Linked DNA regions of Homo sapiens: region 1 is linked to region 2. The links are contacts of gene promoters, found by promoter capture Hi-C in blood cells and fetal thymus (Javierre and others, 2016). All regions are on one chromosome and are shown on one strand. Each heading gives the region's core, a stretch centred on a gene start or on the middle of the fragment in contact. The rest is flanking DNA. Distances are from core to core; before and after follow the strand shown.

Region 1 (6,200 bases), core at 1,268-3,767, 200 kb after region 2:
AATTTTTTAATATGGAAATTGTGTTTATTTAAATTTAGCAGGGCACTTCTTTTTTTTTTTTTTTGAGACAGAATCTTGCTTGCTCTGTCGCCAGGCTGGAGTGCAGTGGCATGATCTTGGCTCACTGCAGTCTCCGCCTCCTGGGTTCAAGCAGTTCTCCTGCCTCAGCCTCCCGAGTAGCTGGGACTAGAGGTGCACGCCACCACACCCAGCTAACTTTTGTATTTTTAGTAGAGTTTGACCATATTGGCCAGGATGGTCTTGATCTCTTGACTTCGCCATCCGCCCACCTCGGCCTTCCAAATCGCTGGAATTACAGGTGGGAGCCACCATGCCCAGTCTGATTTGCTTTCTTATCATTCATATGCTCACTGGACTGTCACTTTTAATTTCCTTCAAGAACTTTGCAGGCCAGGCGCAGTGGCTCATGTCTGTAGTCCCAACACTTTGAGAGGCCTATGCGGGAGGATTGCTTGGGCCCAGGAGTTCGAGACCAGCCTGGACAACAATATGAGACCCTGTCTTTACAAAAAATCAAAAAATTAGTTGGGCATGGTGGCATGAGCCTGTGGTCCCCACTGCATGGGAGGCTGAGGTAGGAATCACTTGAGCCCAGGAAGTCGAAGCTTCAGCGAGCAGTGTTCATGCCATTGCACTCCAGCCTGGGCCATAGAGCAAGACCCTATCTCAAACAAAACAAAACACAAAACTTTTCCTTTGCATTCACAACTAGGCTAACTGGCGCAAGAGGCCTAGCATTGGCCTGTCTTGGCTTTTGATATGCCTTCTCACTAAGCTTAACAATTTCTAGCTTTTTAAAATTTAATGTAGGAGATGTTTGACTTGTTGTTGTTGTTGTTGTTGTTGTTATTGACCAAGTCATGCTGAATCGATTCTTCTTTTCAGTTGGACACTTTGAGGCCATTGCAGGGTTATTTATTGGCCTAATTTCAATATTGTTTGGTCTCAGGCATTAGGGTGGCCTGAGAAAGGGAGAGAGACAGGGAGTGGCCAGTCAGTGAAGCAGTCAGAATACATTTATTGATTAAGTTTGCTGTTTTCATTGGGCGCAGTTTGTGGGGCCTCAAAACAATTACAGTAGTAACATGAAAGATCAGAACTCACAGGTCACCATAATAGATAAATAATAATTTATAAGTTAGGAATATTGCAAAAATTAACAAAATGTAACAGAAAGACGCACAGTGAGCACACATTGTGGGAAAAATGGCGTCTACTAATTTGGTTAATGCAGGGTTGCCACAAACCTTCAATTTATAAAAGCTCAGCATCTGTGAAGCAGTATAAAGCTAAATGCAGTAAAACAAGATATTCCTGTATAACTTCAAGAATATAAGAAGCCCTAAGAATACCAACAAGCTTTATGATAATAGATATTAGTTATACTTAGTTTATTATAAGATATTAGTGTTCTTCGTATATGATTGTATGTGCACATATGTGGCCATATATGACTATGACTTCACCTTAAGCCAGCTTCATTCTTAAGTGATAAAATTAACTTTGGAAATACTTACTGACATTATCTAAATATATGTTACTCTATGATATTATTTTATAGGATTTAAGCCATTTTTATTATAAATTATTTCAGTTACTTTCTGTATCATATCTCCAAGTTTTCCCTGTATAAAGCAGCATTCTTCTTTATTCTCCCTCTATTGACAGGTCATTTTGTCTCTTTTCTTCATTGCCAAGTTTTTTGTAAGAGTGGGCAACATATTCAGCATTTCACATCTTCAGTTCCCCACGCTCATGCTAATGTCTGTCTGCCGCTACCTCCATTGCTATAAAATTTCTTTAGTAAAGATCAGTGACCTGTTGCTCCAGAACATAATTATTGTTTTTTTGCCATCATTCCTTTTTGGCAAATACATATTGCTTTCTAGGTCTCTATTTTTTAAATTTGATTTTCTTGCTCTGTTATAAGAACTAAATTATCTTACAGATGCCAGTGAACAATTTTGAAAAACACTTCCTTACCCCATATCACATCTCTCTGACAGAGAGAGAAGAGGCCATGATTATGTCAACAGTTTGAACAGCGGCATCTTGCAAGAATTTCAGACCAACTGACCACTCATCAAAGAACTTGGCAGCTTTTTAATCTTGTTTTTTTAATACAACAGTATATCCATTCTGATGACAAACCTGTCCCGCCAAATCTCCACAACACACGTTGTAAAATCAGTGATTAGCAAATTAGTCAGCTTTGGCACGGAGCTGTGCTTGCTTGCCCATGACAGTCTGGAAACTGGTTTTGTACTTGCAACAGATTATCAACAATAAGTTGCTCACTGTAAGAAGTAGAGTTGAGTCTCTTCTGCAGGTGTGTGTCCAGTGATCAGCATGTGTGAAAAGTATTCCTTAATATATCTTCTGAAGACTTTTTCTGTTTCTGTTGGAATCTTCTTTGATTACAAATTGGTTATTACCATCTATAGAACCACTTGTACCCAGTTCAGCCAACAAAAATGCAAGATGTTTGGGCTGATGATGTAATAGTTTACAAATATCTGTAAAGTTGACAAAATAAGTTTTCTTGGTTCCTACTCAAATGACCTGTAGAGGTTTGATGACAGATTTCCTTTTCAGCAACCACATCTGGATTCTTTTCCCTCGTGATGTTGCACACTCGCTTCAGTAGCTCCTTATGTGTATTTGAGACTGCCCTAGCAGGGCCTGTATGATTATTGAATGAGATACTGTCATCTTTTTTGCTGTCTTCATCTTCTAGAACTTTGTCTTTCTCTAGTATTTCATCCTCATCTGGGAACTTGACATTCTTCTTTTTCTTCTTTTTATTGCCAAGCATAATATTAAGGTCATACTCTGGTTCAGCTGGTTCTTGAATATTTTTTCAATCTTAAGATCCTTTACACCTTCTTCAGCTTCATCAGTATCAAACATCTTTTTTGTTTTTTTCTTTTCTTTTCTTTTGATTAAAGAAGTTCAAGTCATCTAGATCATCAGAAGCACCTTTTTCCCTACTGTTCTCTTCATCAGCTTCCAATTCTTTGTCCCCAGTTGGCTCTGGCGCCACTTGTTTTGTTTCTAAGGGCTGGGTCTCCTCTGTTTGGGTATCCCCTTCCTCCTCTAACTAAAGGACTGCTGCTGCTGATTTTACTTCTTGGTCATAGTAGGATCAAAAATCATCTCATCCCCAGACATGGCTGCAGCTCGAATGGGCTAGGCACAGACAGGAAGTCAGACAAATCAGCCCTAGCCCCCAGCAGCAGCGCTGCTCCTGCTGTTACCTCTCACACCACTGCACTCTCTAGCCCCTTATTAATGTGTGCACATAGGGTGGGAATAGAGATGAATAAGAGATAGGTGCATGGTGGAGAGAGGAACTAGACTTAGGCATGGTTATACTTCTCCAGTTTGAGGTTTCTGGCACGACTTGACAATCTTTTTCCATCCAGCTTCTTTTTCCTATTCTTTGGATAATTCATTCCAGTCTTTCAACACTTAACTCACAGGACTCTCTTATCATTTGGACTGGGCTCTGACTTAAGTAATTAGAGGCTGTAGGTATAAATTCTCTCAACTCCCCTCTCTATCTGAAAATATATCTGTAATTTTTCATTATTTTCTAAGGGAAAGGAGAGTGGTGTTGATGACCAAAGCTTTGGTGTGACTGCTTGAGAATATTGGAAAGAGAAGCTAGGGCTAAATGAAAAGATTGTTAGGTCATGCTAAGAGTCAGCTGACTTTAAGCGCATTATGTAATTTTAAAAGTAAATTGGTACAGTGGTAACAAGTTAATCATAAATGGTTAATGGAAAAGTAGTTGATCCTTGTTTGACTTGTGTTTGTTTCAGTTACACAGACAGGTATGTATTTGTGTCCTGGCCTTTGATGTAAAGTGTACTTCCTGTGGTTTGCAGTTGAAAATGTTTGAAAGCTGTCTCCTAAATTTGAGAGCTCTGTTTCTTCTGCTTGACTTGTAAATATTGGTGTAACAAGGGTTATTGTCCTTGATAATATTCTTCCTCAGCAGTCATAACTACATTTCACATTTGAGTTATTTACATGCTGGTAGCTCCCTCCACACCCTTCAGCTCCAGAAATATGCTAGTTAAACACCATCTATCCAAAACTTACTCATTACATTTCTGGCTAAAACACTTTTTCCTCATTTTGAGTAGTTATGTAATTATCTATGCATTACCCACACCAGGAACTTGGGAATCATCTAGAATTTCTAATTTGTTTCCTCATTGTAACTCTTAGTACTCCTTCATCATACAGTCATTTATTAAGTCCAATTGATACTCTGATTTATCCTCTACATTTCCTTTAATACTGCCTTAGTTTAGTCTCTTTTGTTACTGATAGACCAGCGTTTTAATTAGAGAAATAGTTTAGCATAGTTCTTAAGAGCATGAGCTGTAGACACAGACATGTTAGTTGAATTCAGATCTTGGCATTTACGTCACCACATGACCTTCAGAATGTTTCTTAATCTCTCCGAACCTCAATTTTTTCACCTTTAATGTGGGGATAGTAATAGAACCTACTTTACAGGGCTGCTATGAGGACTAAATACACTTATACATATAAACTTCTTGAAGAGTTAACTGATCTGGCGGGGTGCGGTGGCTCACGCCTGTAATCCGAGCAGTTTGGGAGGCCAAGGCGAGCAGATCGGTCACCTGAGGTCAGGAGTTCGACGCCAGCCTGACTAACATGGAGAAACCCTAATTTAGTTGAAAGATACAGATTAAAATCAGCAAAGAGAAAAGGTGCATGGTGCAAAGCCCAAGAGAAAGCAGACCCATGCTTTCAGATGTCCCCAGCAACAATGTGGGACAATACACTGGGAGTATTGCCAAGTAGGGAATCTCACCTGAGCCTTGGTGTCTAAGTTTTGGAGATCAGTCTCATTGCCACGCAGCCCCCACAGGACTGGTAATCAGCTACTTGGACACCAGTGCACCCAGAGGTCAAACACGGTATGGCTTAAAGCCTCAGGTATACAAAAGTACTCTTACCAGGCAGAATTTTCCACGGGCTCAGAGGTCATCTCCCAGGAACGTGTAAAGGGCCAGTCCTGAAGATAGGCCTTTCTTAAGAAGGAATGTGCAGCATTTGAGCAACCCAGGCCTGCCAAATAAACCCTTTCTTGCACACTAGTATAGTCACGTTCATTCTTCAAGACCCTATTAGAAGTGTTATCTTTTTGGTGAAAATTTAACTGATTTACTCTAAGAAGAGTTAGTTGCTCTCATATCTTTGTCTCTACAGTTACTTATACTTATCTTCTTTGTAGTTTTATATAATACACTTTCTCAAGAGGTTTTTAAGTCATGCTTTCCCAAATGTGAAAATATTTTTCCTTTTCCCCTTTCTCTTCACTTTACTATTTCTCCCTTTGGTTTGAAAAATTGTTTTTGTGTGTTTCCTTTTACCAAGATCTTTTTATTTATTTATTTTTTTTTTTGAGACCGAGTCTCTCTGTCGCCCAAGCTGGAGTGCAGTGGCGCGATCTCAGCTCACTGCAACCCCCACCTCCCGGGTTCAAGCGATTCTCCTATCTCGCCCTCCTGAGTAGCTGGGAATACAGGCGCGTGCCACCACACCCGGCTGACTTTTTTTTAATTTTTAGTAGAGACGGGGTTTCACCATGTTAGCCAGGATAGTCTCCATCTCCTGACCTCGTGATCCGCCCGCCTCGGCCTCCCAAAGTGCTGGGATTACAGGCGTGAGCCACCGCGCCCGGCTCTTTTTATTTATTTTTATACCATGTTTTTGGTAAAATAAAGAGGAAATATTAATAAGAACAGTATTTTGTTTTAAATATATAACAGTAGTTATTTTTTAATTTTAATTATTTTATTTTAAAATTAGAGATGGCGTCTCACTATGTTGTCCAGGCTGGCCTCAAACTCCTGGGCTCAAGTGATCATTCCACTCCCAAAGTGTTGGGATTACAGGCATGAGCCACCTCACCCTTCTTTTAGAGTGATAAGTTTTATTTATGTTTTCATTTTCCATCAGAATGACTATATATGGTACTACAGTTTGTGTACTACACAACTCATGGGGACTTGGTTTATATCCCAGTCTTTGGTGCTTTCTGTAATTGTGTACATTATAAACTATAAAAATTACATACTAATCTAGAATCCTTCTTGAAGGTGTGGATTGTGTCATTTATGCTGTATCCTCTATTT
Region 2 (6,296 bases), core at 1,222-3,721:
GCTTACCAAAGTAAAATGTACATATAACTTTTAAGAAGCATGCCTATTACTTAAGGTCAGGTGAAATTCCAAATGGGCAGATGATACTTCCACACATACAACTGTGTTGGCATCTAGTGGCTGGGCTGACATTTCATTCAACTTATTCAATAAACAATTATTGATCAAATAGCTAAATTATCAGGTACTATTCTAAACACCAAAGGTATACAGAATAAGATTTCATTCCTATCCTCTAGTTGTCCTCAGCATGAAGTTATAGTGTGGCTACAAGTAAAAAATAGAATTTTGTGAAATGTCTTCAAAAGTAATGAACTTTTTTCTTTTTTTTGAGACAGGGTCTTGCTCTGTCACCCAGGCTGGAGTGCAGTGCAGTGGTGTAATCACAGTTCACCGCGGCCTCGGCCTCCCAGGCTCAGGTGATCCTCTTACCTCAGACTTCCGAGTAGCCAGGACTACAGGCACATGCCACCACACCCAGCTACTTTTTTGAACCTTTTGTAGAGACGCGGTTTCACCATGTCACCCCAGCTGGTCTCAAACTCCTATGCTCAAGCGATCCATGTGCCTTGGCCTCCCAAAGTACTGGGATTACAGGCGTGAGCCACTGTGCCCAGCCTGAACTTTCAAATGGAAAAAAAATTGAAAGCAAATTTCTGCACGTTTCTATATTCTACACATGCAGCCATAAGCATAGGTGTAACCCTGATGGCATGTTTGTACTAGCTCTGGTGTAAGAATCTCTTCCTGATTTCTGAAGTTGAAGTTTTGTTTGTTGAGTATTTGTGAACCCTTTAAAGAACCAGATTTTATTTTACCTTGGCCTCCTCATCATCAAAATAGTACAAATTGCTACATTAAACACTGTATTCTCAGACTTCAAAGGGCATTAACTACCATTATGTATATCTCCATCTTACCCATGAGAGGGCAGTAGAATACATACATGTGAATTCATTTATTAATCTATAAATTTGGTTTCATACGTGATACTTGGAATTCAACCTGCCTTATTTTGCCAAATAATCTTCCTGAATGCAGGGGTCAAAAAATACATTTCTGGGCTGGGTGCAGTGGCTCATGTCTGTAATCCCAGCACTTTGGGAGGCTGAGGCAGGAGGACTGCTTGAGCTCGGGAGTTGGAGACCAGCCTGGGCAACATAGCGAGACCCTGTCTCTACAAAAAAATAAAAATAAAAATATTAGCCGGGGGTGGTGGTGCATGCTTATAATACTAGCTGCTTGGGAGGCCGAGGTGGGACGATTCTTTGAGCCTAGGAAGTTGAGACTTCAAGTGAGCTATGATTGGGCCACCGCACTCCAGTGTGAGTGACACAAAGAGACCCTGTCTCAATAAATAAATAGATAGACACATTATATAAGAATTTTTTTTTTTTTGGTGGGGGAAGCCCATAATGATCAGTGTGCAAAATTTACTACAAACAATATCCACATTTATTTCCTCATTGGGACATGATTTTTTTTAAGTATGTCATTACTTTTTTTTCCCCCATCATAGAATGTAATTTCTGTTTTACTGTCTACAGGTGATAGTTTCACAACGGTTTGGGATATGCTACCTTTATTGTTTGGGTTAAGTTTGCTTGTGACAGTCATCCGTGATACGTAACTAAACACCTCTCTTTCTGGTAGTCTTCTATTTTGGTACCTCTGTGTGAACAAATGTAGGAAGAGTTTGGTCACCAGACCCAAGAGGCTCTGGCTGGGTGGGGTGGGGTGGGGTGGGGCGGGGCGAGGCGGGGTGGGGTGGTTAGCGAGTGCCTGGGAAACAGGCTCAACTGATCCTTGTCCCGCAGCCTCGGTGAAACTGGGTTACAGCTTGCAGTAGGCACAACACCACGCACATACCTAAGCAAGAGCGTGTTGCAGGCGGAGCGCTTAGGCATGTGTGTCTCAACAGGGCGTGGGGGCTGACCTCACGCACTGGGAGTATCAAGGCACCCCCGTTCTGAGATTCCAAGCCTGAGGTGCCGCGAGAGTTATTTGCTTCTCTTGACGTTTCAAGTTGGCACCGTAGTGCAATTGTTTGCTCACTGAGGTCAGCCTAGGAAACAGTGCTTGGATTCCCTGATTAAGCCAGGCTTTATCTTGTTGAGTAGTTGTGAAGAGTAAACCTTCACATGAAGCATAGGGCCGTCTCCGTGGGGCCGATGCGACGGCAGGCGAAGGCGATGGAGCTCTGGCTCGAGGGCTTGGCCGGACGACGGTGACACTGGTCGCCCGCCTGCTGGAACTGCAGTGACCGAGGTCCTGGCAAGGTTCTGGCCATACAGCGGACTTGAGGCGTGGTGGTTCCCCTCACCGCCGGCCGGGGCGGTGTCGGAGGCGGGCATAGCGTGAGGGGTGGGAATAGGAGCCAATAAGAACTGAGCCTTGCCAGGGAGGGCGGGGCTAGGGGGTGGGGCTGCAGCCGGGACGGGGCCTTCGGCAGGGCCTGCGGGGGCGGGACGGAGCGGACCCGAGTGATACCCGGGAGACTAGCTTGGCCACAGGAGACAACGTTGAGGTACAGACAGGTAAGAGTCGGGGTGATTCGGCGCGGGGTTTTAAGCCGCAGGGGCTTCGGACTCTCGGGGCTGTCGGCATCACCCTTCTGGGCGTCGGGTGCGGGGCTGTGGCGCCGCGGCGTAGTCCTCGGACGGTGCGAGCCGAGCTGGCGGAGGTGGTGTCTCCGCGCCCCGCTGTCTCGGCACCTCCTCCGTCCGGAGGAGCAACCGGTTGTTGGGCCCAGCTTTGGGACGTCCTCTCGTGGCCGCACGGGTTGTGGCGGAGCCTGGCTGAAGACCTCCTCGCTACCTCAGGGGCTTGGGGACCCCTAGGCTGGGCGCCGCTCTCTGCTGGGGAAGAGGGAGGGAGCGCCCGGCAGCCTGGGGAAACGCGGGCTTTCTCCAAAATTAGCCAGTGAGCTTGAACTTCGACATGCTGGGACGATGCACTTCCAAACAATATTTTGCTTTTTTTGGTGTTTTGATTCTTAACAGCATCTAATACGCACAATACCGAAAGTTGTCAAGTAGAATTTTAATTTAAAAGTCTGACAGTGGAACACCTAAGAGCTTTTGAGTAACTAGAGCTGTATAGCAGCTGATGATTAGATTATGAGTCAAAAGGCTCAAGTCTAGGGCCAGAACCCGCGGAACCAGATGTGATACCTCGGCCAAATTAACTTCCTGGGCCTCTCTTTCCGTAACTGTGAAACTGGCAAGTTCATGCCTATGGGTATTCTCAGGGTCAAATCAGATGAGTGACAGTATTCTACAAATGTCAGATATTTGAACGTGCGTGTGGAGCGTGTATATTCTGTGAAGCAACTACTACTTGCCTGGTACATAGTAGGCACTTTACAAACGTTTACCCTAAAGCTAGTGATTCTTCTGCAGTGTTTTAGATAAAGTGATAGATCCTTGCTTACTGTGTAAATAAGTTGTTTAAACTTTTCCCACAAAGTGACCCCCATTGTTTGAGTGTGTCCTATTTTTAAATGATTGATGAAATTTTCTAGAATAGCACAGTGGTGTTATCTATACACTGTTGCTGAATCATTTACCGCGAAGTCTGTAGCAATCAAATAATCTACTTCTTTGTCTTAGCTAAATAGTTGTAGTTTAAGATACCTGCTAAAGTAAGCTGGGAATATTGTTCCAAATCAAGACTTTAATTTGTTTTTGTGAATTGACGGGCTGCTTATAGGAAGATTTAAATCTTCCAAAATATTGTTAATATATAGCCATATTTTTTCATACAGCCTTTATTATAGACGTTTTTGTTCTTTACTATGGATATGTGTGCGAGGGATTTTAGCGGGGAGATGGGAAATAAAAAAGAAAATGGCAGTTTTGTAACCTGTAGGCTTTTGCTGGGGATACTTGTAGGCCTGTTCTGAGTTTGCCAGGCAGAAACCAGGAAATGTAGTAATTATGTGTCTTGGTCTTTCATTAGTTGGGGTGTGTGTGTGTGTGTGTGTGTGTGTGTGTGTGTTGAATGTGGCAGTACGTTTTTTAAATGCAGCAATAAAGGAAGAATATTTATTTTTCTTAATGACAATAAGCAGTTTTCTAAAGCTGGAAATTATATTACTTTTAAATGGTCTGTAGTGAGTCTTAAGTTATAGGCAAGAATTTTAGACCACTGGATACCAAGATCAAATTAAATGAAGTAGTAGAGGGAAAGTTACTAGTGAATGTAATTTTTGTGTGTGTTGCTTTAGAAGTTTTACTTAAACATGTTTCAGCAATTCAGTGGAGGATGGGTCTTTTGAAGCTACTTTAAAACATGAGTTTTAAACGTACTCCATGTATAAATTTTTCTGTGATTTACAATTTCTTGATCTTGGAGGTCTGAAACCTTACATTCACATTGTTTTTTGAGGGCCTACTACACAATAGGCACAAGATTATATTTATGTAAGAGCAGTATGTAATTCCTGTCATCTAGGAGATTCCATTCTACCAAGTGGGCTAAAATAAGTACTGAAAAAACAAAAGCTGTTTTTAAAGCGGATGGTAACAATAACAACATCAGCTATCATTCATTGGTACCTAGTCTGTGCCAGGCAGTATTCTAAATTCTTTACATGTATTAGCTTACTTAATCCTCACAACAGCACCATGAGGGATGTTATTATGATTATCTCATTAAGAGGCATAGAGAGGTTGAGTAACTTGCCCATGATTAGACAACCTAGATAGCAAAAGTAGGATTCAAATCAGTCATTCTCCAAGGACCTGATTGTAACCTTTGCGCTATACTGAGTTTCAAATTCTGTGAGTGAGATACAAATGACATCTAATAGGTATTTTAAAAAGAGGTCTATAAAAAACTATTTCAAAAAGAAGGAAAGAAAGAGGAAAAAATAAACTGGTATTGCAATACCAGTTTTATTGCAATTAAAACGATGTAATTATAGTTTATCTGTGGGAACCCTTTTTTTGTTATTGTTGCCAGTGAATGACATGGGGATGATTCTAAGCTCTCAGTCCCTCAGTAACAACAGTTATGGCATTATCTTAACAATATGAGGTGCTTATTTTTCATTAAAAAGCACCTCATAACTTCTTTCATTAAGAAGTTAAAAATATCTGTTCTCAGACTGTAAATTAAGTATTAGATTCAAGAAGAGAAAATGCTTCCCTGTCTTTAAGAAGCTTATAACCCAACATGTAAATAAGGCTCTACAATTTCAGCATGATAAGAGCTGTAAAGAAGTATAGATTTAGGTACGTTTGAAGAGTTGCAAGAAAAAGAAAGAAGTATAGATAGAATTTAACCACTGATGAGGAAAAATCATTCTGCGTGTGGTAGGGAGGACGATTAGAGAGAAGATATTAAATTTGGCTTTGAAGGATGAATAGGAGTTTGCTGAAATTGGGTCAGGAAACAGGAGATATGAATGAAAACCAGGGATAAGTGTGCAAGTATATGGTATGTTTGAGGAATGTGTTGTAGTCCATTGTACTGAAGGCCAGGGTGTGTAGAAATGGGTGGTTTGGCTAAAGGAGATGGTGCCTGGAAATAAGATGAAAAAATAAAATTGCAAAGCTTCCTTGCTGATTGCATTAGGATCACTAAAATTGCTAGGTAATGTGGTATTTCACTTCCCTTCATTTGGAACAATGAAATGAGTAATTAGTTCAGTTTGGCAGAATGTTTCACTAAAAAATATGGTGTTAAAGGTACTTTTAATACTTTGAAGTACAAGATATAAGATAACATTACAGACTTAGGTAAGTAAAAAGTTAAGATTTAGGGCCAGGCGTGGTGGCTCATGCCTGTAATCCCAGCACTCTGGGAGGCCAAGGCAGGTGGATCAAGAGGTCAGGAGATCGGGAGCATCCTGGTCAACATGGCGAAACCCCATCTCTACTAAAATACAAAAATTATACGGGTGTGGTGGCGTGTGCCTGTAATCCCAGCTACTTGGGAGGCTGAGGCAGGAGAATCATTTGAACCAGGGAGTCAGAGGTTGCGGTGAGCTGAGGTCGTGCACCTGCACTCCAGCCTGGCAACAGAGTGAGACTGTCTTTAAAAAAAAAAGTTATGATTCAGAAAAAGAGGGAAAAAAGTCTTCTGATGCTAGGTCTTGAAGAGCCAGAGTATCGTGCTAAGGACTTTGGACTTGATTCTAAAGACAATGGAGAGCCAGTGAAGGATTTTAGATATAGGTGTTTAGGAAAGATAAGCTGAAAATGGTTTGGAGGCTGAATTGGATGAAGAGAGACAAAAGGTAGGGAGATAAGTTAGGAGGCTGTTGCTATTGAAATAGTCCAGATAAGGGA

What was found. Contacts are between HindIII fragments. The CHiCAGO score rates a contact against its expected background, and 5 or more counts as called.
Region 1: a fragment that was not itself captured here is called in contact with the fragment with the promoter of DENND2C in region 2 in 1 of 17 cell types (total B cells); the score reaches 5.5 in total B cells.

Annotation. Positions count from the first base shown.
Region 1 is chr1:114,465,308-114,471,507 of GRCh38, reverse strand. The region is part of intron 1 of TRIM33 (tripartite motif containing 33); the gene reads left to right. It also overlaps the pseudogene EIF2S2P5. Among named protein-coding and RNA genes, the nearest start is that of TRIM33, 43 kb to the left of the region's middle. The HindIII fragment of the contact is 2,270 bases long and covers 1,383-3,652 here.
Region 2 is chr1:114,666,224-114,672,519 of GRCh38, reverse strand. It overlaps DENND2C (DENN domain containing 2C), which reads left to right and starts at 2,471. Exons shown (of 21, transcript NM_001256404.2): 1 at 2,471-2,537. LOC124904354 (a long non-coding RNA gene) reads right to left here and starts at 2,109. Exons shown (of 2, transcript XR_007066465.1): 1 at 1,870-2,109; 2 at 1,566-1,671. RefSeq lists an enhancer at 2,098-2,257 and a silencer at 2,378-2,467. The HindIII fragment of the contact is 6,814 bases long and covers 1-5,167 here.